Linked DNA regions of Homo sapiens: regions 2, 3 and 4 are each linked to region 1. The links are contacts of gene promoters, found by promoter capture Hi-C in blood cells and fetal thymus (Javierre and others, 2016). All regions are on one chromosome and are shown on one strand. The core of a region is centred on a gene start or on the middle of the fragment in contact, and the rest is flanking DNA. Distances in the headings are between cores, read along the strand shown. Region 1 holds the start of SLC27A3 (solute carrier family 27 member 3). Region 2 overlaps NUP210L (nucleoporin 210 like). Region 3 holds the start of S100A16 (S100 calcium binding protein A16). Region 4 overlaps CHTOP (chromatin target of PRMT1).

What was found. Contacts are between HindIII fragments. The CHiCAGO score rates a contact against its expected background, and 5 or more counts as called.
Region 2: a contact is called between a fragment that was not itself captured here and the fragment with the promoter of SLC27A3 in region 1, in 11 of 17 cell types (total CD4 T cells, activated CD4 T cells, naive B cells and 8 more). The highest score is 10.1, in total CD4 T cells.
Region 3: a contact is called between the fragment with the promoter of S100A16 here and the fragment with the promoter of SLC27A3 in region 1, in 2 of 17 cell types (M2 macrophages and M0 macrophages). The highest score is 6.1, in M2 macrophages.
Region 4: a fragment that was not itself captured here is called in contact with the fragment with the promoter of SLC27A3 in region 1 in 4 of 17 cell types (M0 macrophages, endothelial precursors, M1 macrophages and 1 more); the score reaches 7.4 in M0 macrophages.

What each region holds. Positions count from the first base shown.
Region 1 is chr1:153,773,930-153,776,780 of GRCh38, reverse strand. SLC27A3 (solute carrier family 27 member 3) reads right to left here and starts at 1,374. Exons shown (of 10, transcript NM_024330.4): 1 at 617-1,374; 2 at 54-263. The coding sequence starts at 1,283. It overlaps INTS3 (integrator complex subunit 3), which reads right to left. Exons shown (of 30, transcript NM_023015.5): 30 at 1,973-2,851. RefSeq lists a silencer at 747-938 and an enhancer at 307-973. The HindIII fragment of the contact is 7,576 bases long and covers 1-2,851 here.
Region 2 is chr1:154,000,768-154,003,618 of GRCh38, reverse strand. It overlaps NUP210L (nucleoporin 210 like), which reads left to right. Exons shown (of 40, transcript NM_207308.3): 36 at 1,634-1,884; 37 at 2,559-2,763. Among named protein-coding and RNA genes, the nearest start is that of RPS27, 11 kb to the right of the region's middle. The HindIII fragment of the contact is 1,365 bases long and covers 720-2,084 here.
Region 3 is chr1:153,611,709-153,614,559 of GRCh38, reverse strand. S100A16 (S100 calcium binding protein A16) reads left to right here and starts at 1,423. Exons shown (of 3, transcript NM_080388.3): 1 at 1,423-1,608. S100A14 (S100 calcium binding protein A14) reads left to right here. Exons shown (of 4, transcript NM_020672.3): 4 at 1-305. The HindIII fragment of the contact is 6,157 bases long and covers 1-1,900 here.
Region 4 is chr1:153,637,532-153,640,382 of GRCh38, reverse strand. CHTOP (chromatin target of PRMT1) reads right to left here. Exons shown (of 6, transcript NM_015607.4): 3 at 1,935-2,088. Among named protein-coding and RNA genes, the nearest start is that of CHTOP, 4.9 kb to the right of the region's middle. The HindIII fragment of the contact is 1,416 bases long and covers 675-2,090 here.

The sequences.
Region 1 (2,851 bases), core at 125-2,624:
CTGCCTTCCTCTGCCTTGGTTTCGGGGAGCTAAGTATGGTGCCCGGCCCTCACCCGTGGTGCCAGAGGTGAAGATGTACAGGCACGTGTCTGTTATGCTCTGGGGGGAAGAGAGGTATCCTGGCACTGGCCCATCCACTTCAGCGGACACTTCAGCCAGCAAATCGCTAATTCCAGCAGGGTGGGTTCCTGGGCCTGCAGCCCACAGGTGGAGCCCCATGGCTCTCAGGGCGGGCAGGTCCGGCTCCAGGGACTCCAGAAACTCTAGAAGGGTGGGAAAGCACAACGCCGGGGCCCTGGCTCTACCTAGAAGAGCCTATGACCCATGTCCCCTCCCTATCCCAGCCCACACTGCTCTTGGATGAGGGTGAAGGGTATGGACATTCCATCTTGGGTCTGAGGCCTGGAACTCGACTCCTTGGGGATCCTTGGGGCACCAAAGATTCAGCCTCATCCCTTCTCAAACCCGGAGACTCCTATCTCCACCCACTTTCGAACCCCAAGGGATAGTCGGCTTCTTCCCAGGCCCAGGGATGAGACCAAGCCTTTCTGTGGTCTCCGACACGCCCCCTTCTGTGGCTGGCCCCGCCTTAGTCAGTTCGGAGCTCCAGCCTTACCTGGCGCCAGCACCAGCGCGCGCGCGCCGCAGCTGCGGAGGCAGTGCAGCAGGGGGCCCCGGCGCAGGGCGGTGGGCACAAAGGCAGTGCGCAGGCCGGCCTTGGCCAGCCCGAACCAGAGCCACAGAAACTCTGGGCCAGCGGGGAGGAGCAGCGCCACAGTTGCTCCAGGTGACAGAGGGGCGGCGGCTCCTCCACCTCTGGCGGCACCGTCCCCTCCGGCAAACTCCGCGCCGCTTCCGGCCGCTGCATCTCCGGCTCCCGGCGCTGCCCGCTCGCCTTCTCCAGCGCTCCCCTCGCCGCTGTCGCCGCCGTCGGGTCCCCAGTCCCAGCCTAGCGCACGTAGGAAGGCGCGTGCAGCCCTGTTACTCTCGCGCTCCGCCTCTGAGTAGCTAAAGCGCCGCGAGCCGTGAATGAGAAAGGTGTGCGCGGCGCGCTGCTGGGCCAGTTCCGCGAGGCGCCAGGCCAGGCTGCAGCCCCCCTCGGGACCTTCCGGGTCGGCGGCAGCCGCGGCCAGGGCGCGAGCTCGAAGAGCCCTTTTGCAGCACAGAGCTCGCACCGCAAAGGCCAAGTCCGCCGGAAGCCAGCGCAACTGCGGCCAGAGGTGTAGCTTCAGCAGCAGCAGCGGTAGCAACAGCAGCAGGGGCAGCAGCAGGAGGGCAGCCATGGAGCCCGCTTCCTCTATCGGCACCGTCTGGTTCCAGCCGCTCGCAAACATCCCTGATCCTCCCTTCCGAAAACCTAGGGCCGCTCGTTCTAGCTGAGACTTCTCCTTCCAGGGAGCGCGCGTGCGCTGGCACACGCCCATTCCCACCCAGGCCCCCACCACTCCACACGGGCGGAGAGCAGAAACCCGGGAGGAGTGCGGGTGTGGGGCGGCCCCGGACTCCCAGCCCTCCCCCCACAGCCTACGCTCCGCCCTAGGCGCGCTCCCTCCCGGACTGCTCGCGGCTCGCACCCTACCAGGTCCTGGGCGGTGCTCGCGCCTTCCCTGAATCCCAGGGTTATGTCTGTCTTCTAAGTTGTTTCTCGGCTTGGGCGGTTTAGGCATCTGGCTAAGCCCTAGAGTCCAGGCCTGAGAGCCAGGGCGTTTGGATCGCAGTCCATCTTCCCCTCAATATTTCTCGTTTTCCCGTTAAGGGAAGGTACCATTGCTCTCTCCCAAAAGAATGAACTTGGCCCCTGGCCCATTTGGTTCTGCAAGTCCCGGCCTGCCAGCCGCAACCCCAGGGGATGGGTGGGGGCTGAGAGTTAAATAGGGGAAAGGTGGAAACCCAGACTGCCAGATTTCTGAGGGGTCACGACAGAGGCCCCTCCCTTTGGGCAAGGGTACAATAATTGGGGCCAGCCAGCAAATGCTCTCCATCCTGGTTTTAATTGGGACAGAGGAAACTGGGGAAGGAGAGAGGAAGGAAAAAGAAGCCTCCAGTGGTTTAGACTTTCAAAGGAAGCAACAGCAGTGATGAGGGAGGGGAGAACCTGGATTCTGTAAAAAGACAAATTTTCGGGGTGAAGAGGAGCAGCTCTGTGCAGTTCGCCCAAACTTCACTCCTCAGTCCACCTCCATTCTCCCTGGACAGCGGGGGAACAACAGCATAGCCAAGGAACTCTCCTCTGCTGGTTCACATGGCCCAGCAAGTGGCCACACTGTGGAAGGAAGAGCATCTCTGTCCCTCCCTGGTATCCAGACTTTATCTCCAGGTACAGTTGTCCCTGGAGACCAAGCTGGAGCATCCCTCCCGTCAAGCAGCGAGTCCTCCGGCCATTCTTGGTAGGCACACAGACTTCAACTGGAGGATGACAGACCTTTTGGAAGCATCTTGTTTCTTGAGAAATGAGTAAGGACAGGCCTCATCCTACGGGGGATGGTTCTGCATAGACAGATCAGTGCCTGGCTCCCACCTCCAGTGGCAGCAGGAAGGATGGGTAGTGGCCAAAGCCAAGTCCCTTCTGCTCTAGACAAAAGTGGGGGCAGAACAGGAAGGGAAAGGGGGATGTTCTGCGGTTACAAGTAGGGGTGCCAATCAAATCAAGACCAAGCTATACATGCACGGGGCAAATGCCAGCAGACACTCCAGCACAAAAGACATTCTGGCTTGTTTTATTGTCATTTAAAAACAACTTTTAAGACACGATTATCTCTGCCAAAAAAAAAACAAAAAAAAACAAAAAAAAAAACAGACTCAAGGAAATGGGATCATTTGACAATTCTGTGAAACTTGCCTCTGGGACTCC
Region 2 (2,851 bases), core at 153-2,652, 230 kb before region 1:
AGGCAGGAAGATTGCTTGAGCCCAAGAATTCAAGGTTTCAGTGAGTTGTGATTGTGCCACTGCAGTCCGGCCTGGGCAAGAGCAAGACTCTGTCTCTACAAAAATAATAAATAGTCCAGGCATGGTGGCTCACGCCTGTAATCCCAGCACTTTGGGAGGCTGAGGTGGGAGGATCACGAGGTCAGGAGATCGAGACCATCCTGGCTAACAAGGTAAAACCTCGTCTCTACTAAAAATACAAAAATTAGCCGGATGTGGTGGCAGGCGCCTGTAGTCCCAGCTACTTGGGAGGCTGAGGCAGGAGAATGGCGTGAACCTGGGAGGCAGAGCTTGCAGTGAGCTGAGATTGCGCCACTGCACTCTAGCCTGGGCAACAGGGCGAGACTCTGTCTCAAAAATATATATAAAATAATAATAATAGCAATAAATAAAAATTAAAAATTAGCCAGGCATGGTGGCACATGCCTGGAGTCCTAGCTGCCTGGGAGGCTGAGGTGGGAGGATTACTTGAGCCCAGGAGTTTAAGGCTGCAGTGAGGTAGAATTGCACCACTGCACTCCAGCCTGGGCAACAGTGTGAAATTCTGTCTCTTTAAAAAAAAAAAAAAAAGACAGCTAAGGATTAATCATGGGTAACTGGAAAAACAGTTCCTACCATTGATAAAAATAATGACACCAAGAGGTGGTCTGATACATAAGTTATTAATGATGCTCAAAGCTTGTCTGTCTTTCACAAACCCTTTCCTGAGTTCACCAGCACTGACTACTTCATTCTATATCCCCAGCTCTTAATTGCCCTGCTTGTGTTATATCATTTAATATTCCCTGACATGTTGAATAAGAATGGTATTCTTAGCCAGGGAGCAGTTTCTCACGCCTGTAAACCCAGCACTTTGGGAGGCCAAGGCAGGAGGATCGCTTGAGCCCAGGAGTTTGAGACCAGCCTGGGCAACATAATGAAGTCCCTTCTCTATAAAAAATATAATTTTTTTTTTTGAGACGGAGTCTTGCTCTGTCCCCAAGCTGGAATGCAGTGGTGTGATCTCAGCTCACTGCAACGTCCATCTCAAGCAATTTCCCTGCCTCAGTCTCCCAAGTAGCTGGGATTACAGGTACCCACCATCACACCCGGCTAATCCTCGTATTTTTAGTAGAGATGGGGGTTTCACCATGTTGGCCAGGCTGGTCTCGAACTCTTGACCTTGTGATCCACCCACCTCAGCTAAAAAATACAAAAATTAGCCAGGCACAGTGGCTCATGCCTGTAATCCCAGCTACTCGGGAGGCTGAGGTGGGAGGATCGCCAGAGCCTGGGAGGTCGGGCTGCAGAATGCCATGATCACGCCACTGTGCTCTAGCCTGCACGACACAGTGAGACCCTGTCTCCAAAAAAAAGAAAGAATGGTATTCTCAGAAAACAAGTTTAGTTGTGGTTTCTCTAGGAGTATTTTTCTTTTTATTTGGCATCCTCCTCGTAGTGGCCAATATTGTGCTGATATTGAATACTCAAAACTAAATTCACATTTTCTCTTTTGCTGAATTTGCATGTCACAATTTTCCCTTCCTATCCTAATTCAGTTGGCTCAATAGAGCCTCTGAACCTTCCTGCTCAGTTTTTCCTCTTTTTTTTCCAGGGGTTTATGTCTGCATAATCAAGGTTCGACCGCAGTCAGAGGAGCTGCTACAGGCCCTCAGTGTGGCTGACACCTCAGTCTATGGGTGGGCTACACTGGTCAGTGAACGTAGCAAGAATGGAATGCAACGAATCCTCATTCCTTTCATCCCAGCCTTTTATATTAACCAGTCAGAATTGGTTCTTAGCCACAAACAAGATATCGGGGAGATAAGAGTACTGGGAGTGGACAGAGTTCTTAGGAAGCTAGAGGTATGTTAAGAACTGAACCAAAACAGAACAAGAGATCAGGAATTTGAAAAGATAGTTTTCATTCTCACTTCAAGGGCAAAAGAAGTTACTGAGTGACCTAATAAAAATTACCATAGGAAATGACAAAATCAAATGAAGAAAACCCATCTCCTTCATAATGCCAGGCAGGCTCCCAGAGTCCAAAATCTAGGTCATAAGCTTTGTCAACATACCTAAAGGAGTAAAAAAAGTAAATGATTGGCCGAGCGCGGTGGCTCATGCCTGTAATCCCAGCACTTTGGGAGGCCAAAGTGGGTGGATCACAAGGTCAACAGATCAAGACCATCCTGGCCAACATGGTGAAACCTCTTCTCTACTAAAAGTACAAAAATTAGCTGGACGTGGTGGCGGACACCTGTAGTCCCAGCTACTCGGGAGGCTGAGGCAGGAAAATTGCTTGAACCCGGGAGGCAGAGGTTGCAGGGAGCTGAGATCGCGCCACTGCACTCCAGCCTGGGTGACAGAGCGAGACTCCCTCTCAACAACAACAAAAAAGTAAATGATTTGATTGTCGGCTAGCTAGCTAGAAATCCAGATCTTGACAATTATTGTACTGTATATGTTTCAGATTGGAACATACTGATACAAAGTTGATTTTTCTTCTTTTAAATAAAAGGTTTTATCTTTTCTCCAAGGTCATCTCCAGCTCCCCAGTTCTAGTGGTCGCTGGCCATAGCCACTCTCCCCTCACTCCTGGCCTGGCCATTTACTCTGTAAGAGTGGTCAACTTCACTTCCTTCCAGCAAATGGCATCACCTGTTTTCATCAATATTTCCTGTGTACTCACCAGTCAAAGTGAGGCAGTGGTAGTGAGGGCTATGAAAGATAAGTTGGGTGCAGGTAAGCATCAGAGATTCCTATTTATAATCTAGAGAGGAAAAGAAGAAAGAATGTATTACATTAGTACCCCCCATCTGCAGTTTTGCTT
Region 3 (2,851 bases), core at 174-2,673, 160 kb after region 1:
GGAGCTGGGAATATGGCTGGATATCTGGTACTAAAAAAGGGTCTTTAAGAACCTACTTCCTAATCTCTTCCCCAATCCAAACCATAGCTGTCTGTCCAGTGCTCTCTTCCTGCCTCCAGCTCTGCCCCAGGCTCCTCCTAGACTCTGTCCCTGGGCTAGGGCAGGGGAGGAGGGAGAGCAGGGTTGGGGGAGAGGCTGAGGAGAGTGTGACATGTGGGGAGAGGACCAGCTGGGTGCTTGGGCATTGACAGAATGATGGTTGTTTTGTATCATTTGATTAATAAAAAAAAATGAAAAAAGTGAAACATGTTGTCTTGACTGGACACCCCCTCCCTGAGGGTCCACGGGTGAGAGGAGCTTGGGGGTGAAAGGCAAAGTCATTGGTAGGGTGGGGCACGTGGGGCTGGAGTGGTTGGCTGTGGAAGTGAATGGGGACTCACTTTTCCCTATGGGTTTGGGTTGAGGGTGGTACCAGGTCCAAAAGGGCAACATGGTCCTCTCTGAGGGACAGGCTCCTCTTTGCCAATGGGCGGGCCCTCTTATAGGAGAGGAGGGTATGTGTGCACACTTGGGGAAAAGGATATTAGTCCAGGTGTTCTGAGCCCTGGCTGGCACAACCAGGGAAATGGGGTGGGTGGGGGTGGGGGGCGGTTAGAAACAGGCTGACTGGCCTGAGTTTGAATCTCAGATCTGCCACTTATCATTGGAATTTTGGGCATGCTCTTAGTATCAGTTTCCTCATCTGTAAAATGGGGGATATGAATATTACTTCCACAGGATTGCCAGGAGGACAATGCCACACATCATGTAAAGCACTTACAGAGAGCCTGACACATGGTGAGTGCCCAGTGACCCAATATCATTCCCGCTGGAGTGGGCAAGTGGGCCCCTCTTTGGTTTCAGCTGCTGCCCTAGTGTAGGGAGGTCGAGCTGGCCAGTTTCCTTGGGTATCTTAGGGAAACGGTGGGGTGTGGGGAGTTTCCAGAGGAGTCTTCTGGTGTACATGAGGGATCTTAGGGCTGGGTCTCAGTAGAGCTGATGGGTCAGACTAGAGACAGAAGACCAGGGAGCCAGACAGGTCCCTGGCATCTGCCTTCTGATTTGAGCACAGAAGTCGGGCGTTACTCCTGAAACCCCAGTGGCAAGGAGGTTTCTGTGGCCAGTTAGGCTGGCCTGGAATGTTAACTGAACTTGTCTGTTGGGAGCCCCTGAAACTGGGATCCCAGTGACCCAGGTGAGAAAGGCAGGTGATAGTCCTTCCCTTCCTTTCTCTACCCTGTCAGGTTCTGCTCAGCCCCTGCGGGGCTGGGAGGGTGGGGTTGGGGGAGTGCCAGTTTTCACCACTCCCTCTGGGATGGGGGTAGAGGGGTGTGAAAAAAGGTGTGTATCCCTTTAACAAGGGCCCAACCCCAGGGCCAAGTCAAGAAGGAGCTCAGCCACTATCTCCCCACCGAGCCAGCTCAGCGGGCAGGGCTGGGAGGGAGTGGGACAGATTCTGGGAGTGCAGCGGGGAGGAGTCCCGGCTGGGCTGAGCGCAGGGAGCTGCTTGGCAGTGCCAGAGCCCAGGCCCCAGAGCCCTGCTGGAGAGGAGGCAGACTGAGGCAGCAGGTGAGCACCCTGGGCCCGGCCTGGGAGGTCTTCGGCTGCCGGAGGGCCCCACAGTATTGGGAGGCCAGGAGAAGGGGCAGTGAAGGGGGCCTGGGGAGAGGGGCCTGCCAGAGAGCAGGCAGGAAGATTTTGGTAATTATTAACTTTCTCCCACAGGCCAGTTTAGGAATGGGGAGTCCTGGGGGGTTGGGGGCTGGGTGAGGCCTTTAGAGGGATGGATGGGATGGTGAGACCCCCTCCCTGCCGCAGCAGCTGACGGAGCTCCTCTCCAGGGGCAGAGTATTTGGAAGCTTTGACCACAGCTACTCGATCCTCCCCAAAAGGAGAGGACAAATGCGTGTTGGTCTGGGTTGGGGGTGGTCAGAGCTTGGACACAGGCCTTGCTGGGCTCTGGGAGCTGTGTCCTAGGGGAGGTGATGGGGTCCAGAAGGAACCAGGCAGTTTCCAGGGAGCCTGAGATTCCGAGAAGAGGAGGCGGGGGCTGAGGTGGCGTCCCCTCTACCTCACGACCCAAGCAGACCCCACTGTGTTCCAGGAGCTGTTCCTTGAGAGGGATGATGAGATCTGGGAGGAACCCGAGTGAGGCTGTGGGGAGCCTGCAAGCTCCCTGGGAGAGGGAAAGATAGAGAGAGGGGGGCTGAACCTCGGCAGCTCCTCCACCTCAGGACCCAGGCAGGCCCCGGCTTGAGCTGCTTTTCTTGGCAGAGCCACCTGCACTATGGGAGCCTTCCCCTGCCCAGCCCAGTGGGGATGGTGGTGAGGGCAGGGGTGCTGGGGAGCTGGCTCTGCCTTTCCCCACATTCTAGTAAGTGTTGTTGAGGCTGGGGTAGCTGTGTGTGTGTTGGGGGAGGCGGGGGCAAGATCCACACTGAACTCCTCCAACTTCACTTGCCTGGAAAAATTTCAGAGGCTGGCTTCTTGCTCCAAGAACTGAAGTGAGTGGAAGGGTGATGGGTCACCCAAGCAGAGGGGATCAGGAATGGCCGAGGTCCTTGCTCGGTGTGTGTGTGTGTGTGTGTGTGTGTGTGTGTGTGAGAGAGAGACAAAGAGAGTTAGACGCAGAATCCTGTGAGGATGGTAAGGGGTGAGGCAGGGCCAAGCAGGCCCCACTATGCTCCGGGAGCTGTTCCTGGAGAGGGCCTTGTGGAATTGGAGAAAGAACACAGGAAGGAGCAGAGAATGGAACAGCTGAGGCTGGAGAAATTTCATTTGAAACAGCCTTGCTGATAGAGGTGGCATTGTC
Region 4 (2,851 bases), core at 133-2,632, 140 kb after region 1:
ATTCTCCTTAGCCTCTTGAGTAGCTGGGATTACAGGTATGCGCCACCATGCCCGGCTTTTTTTTTTTTTTAGTAGAGATGGGGTTTTGCCACATTGGCCAGGCTAGTCTCAAACTCCTGACCTCAAGTGATCCGCCTGCCTTGGCCTCCCAGAGTGCTGGGATTACAGGCCTGGCCTAAAATTAAATTAAAAAAAATTAAGCTCCTTAATTGCACTAGTCACATTTAAAGTTTTCAATAGCCACATGTGACTAGTGGCTACTGTACCGGAGAGCAAATACAGAACATTTCCATCATTGTAGAAAGTTCTGGCTGGGCACGGTAGCTCATGCCTGTAATCTGAACACTTTGGGATACTGAGGCAGGCAGATCACTTGAGGTCAGGAGTTCAAGACCAGTCTGGCCAACATGACAAAACTCCGTCTCTACTAAAAATACAAAAATTAGCCGGGTGTGGTGGCGGGCGCCTGTAGCTGAGACAGGAGAATCGCTTGAACCCGGGAGGCGGAGGCTGCAGTGAGTTGAGATTGCACCACTGCACTACAGCCTGGGTGACAGAGCAAGACTCCGTCTCAAAACAAACCAAACCAAACCAAACCAAAAACATAAAAAAATTCTATTTAATAGTACTACTCTGGATAGGGACTACTTCCTGCAGAGCCTATACTTAAAGCTTCTTGTTGAAAGGTCCTTTGGAATGATCTGTCAGAGATTCATCTTCAGCAACTTCCATTTACTCTTGGAAAATGGTGCCTTTTGCTGCTTTCCTGAGTCAGGGAGGAATCCAGTCACTCCAAGGCTTAAGGTAGCCGAAGCAGACACCCTTGTTTATTTTTGGTCAGTGAGCCCAATGGTTCAGGGTGGGGGTGTAAGGGTGTTATATTTAACTGCTGAATTTATGCATAGCCATGCAATGCTACCAAAGCCCTTACAGTTGCATGGCACTGCCCTCCAGACGCCCAGCCACAGCTTGGACATATCCTTCCACAGCCACTGTCCGGACTTGCATATAAATTCTATGAATAATAAAGAGCAGGTTTTATTTCAGGTCTGAATAGGATTATCTCTCACTGTAAATTTGAAAAAGAGAACCCCTAACTCAAATTACTCAGTATTCTTGCTCCACTTTACTGGTAAAACTTTAGGTGCTGTGGAAATGAGGGTCACTCTACTCTGTATATTTTAGCATTGAAAACCTTTGACTGCTGGGCGCGGTGGCTCAAGCCTGTAATCCCAGCACTTTGGGAGGCCGAGGCGGGTGGATCACGAGGTCAGGAGATCGAGACCATCCTGGCTAGTATGGTGAAACCCTGTCTCTATTAAATATACAAAAAAATTAGCTGGGTGTGGTGGCGGGCACCTTTAGTCCCAGCTGTTCGGGAGGCTGAGGCAGGAGAATGGTATGGACCCGGGAGGCGGAGCTTGCAGTGAGCCGAGATCGTGCCACTGCACTCCAGCCTGGGCGACAGAGCAAGACTCCGTCTAAAAAAAAAAAAAAAAAGAAAACCTTTGACTAAGGCCATGCAAACTCCCTGCACTATGGGAAAAAGAATAAAATTATTTCCCTGTTGGGTAAATCATTTAACAGAGAGTAAAGGATGCTGTGAGATTATCTAAAGCTGAAATAAAGTTTCTTTGTGGAATAAGCCATTAATCTATGTTAAGGGTTAAGGATCAGAAAACAAAAGATTAATACTCATTGGTAACAGAAACAGGCCACATAGATGGCAAACTCCCTAAAAGAGAAAGACAGTAAAAAGTTACTTATTGGTACCTGCCAAAATTGGAATTCTCTGAACTTCTCTTTCTTCCAGAGAAGTTTCAGCTTTTTGCCCTGAGCCACTTTGCAATCATCCATCACGTCCTGACAGCCTCAGTGGACTCCCTCACAGAGATCACCAGCTGCTTCTGGAGCATTAAGACCCATTCTCTCACCTGCTTAAGTTTTAATGCTGCCTGGACAGAGGGTCTATTCTCCATCTGCTGGGCCAGTCTTCTGTTTCTGGCACTGGCTAGCTGCTGTTGTTGCTGCATCGAAGCCCGAATATTCACTGGCGTCGGCTGTTTGTTCTTCAGCATATTAGTAAAGCTTCAAGGTCGAACAAAATGGATGTTTAAATAAAAGCTTTATTACAAACATTTATTGGCATTTTCATGGCTTGCTAGACCAGGAGCTCCAGATCCCACGAACTTTTAAGTAAAGTGGTACACTTAGATCAAGGCTGATGTGGGTTAAAGACTCCTCTGTTTCCACAAACTTGCAAGAATCAGAAACTTAGAAATGCAGCTAAGTGCAGCACATTCAACCAAAAGTGATAACGAGGGCTCAGGTAACGGCTTTTAGAGAGGTGGAAGGTATGAAAAACACGCAATAAGCAGATATGACAAGAGACAGAAGATATAGTTTCAAAGACAAATGAAGAAAGCCTAAACCTTGGGGGATCCGAGGTGCATTCTAAGGCCAAATATGAGGAAGGATTAGAGCACCTTCAAAGCTCACAGCAATGAACATACTCTCATAAATTACAGGAGTGTATCACATTTTAAAATATATGTCACTAACATGCAAACATAAATATTATGCAAACATAAATAATTAGCTTATCATAGCCAAAGAGATAAGGAGAGAAGCACATATGCCTCAGAAGAGGCAAAAATAGACATTAAGTAAATTTCAGTGGTCGAAAGTCAACTTAATGAAATCACTGATCAAAGGCATTCTTTTTTTTGAAACGGAGCCTCACTCTGTCCTCTGTTGCCCTGGCTGGAGTGCAGTGGCAGGATCTTGGCTCACTGCAACCTTCGCCTCACGGGTTCAAGTGATTCTCCTACCTCAGCCTCCTGAGTAGCTG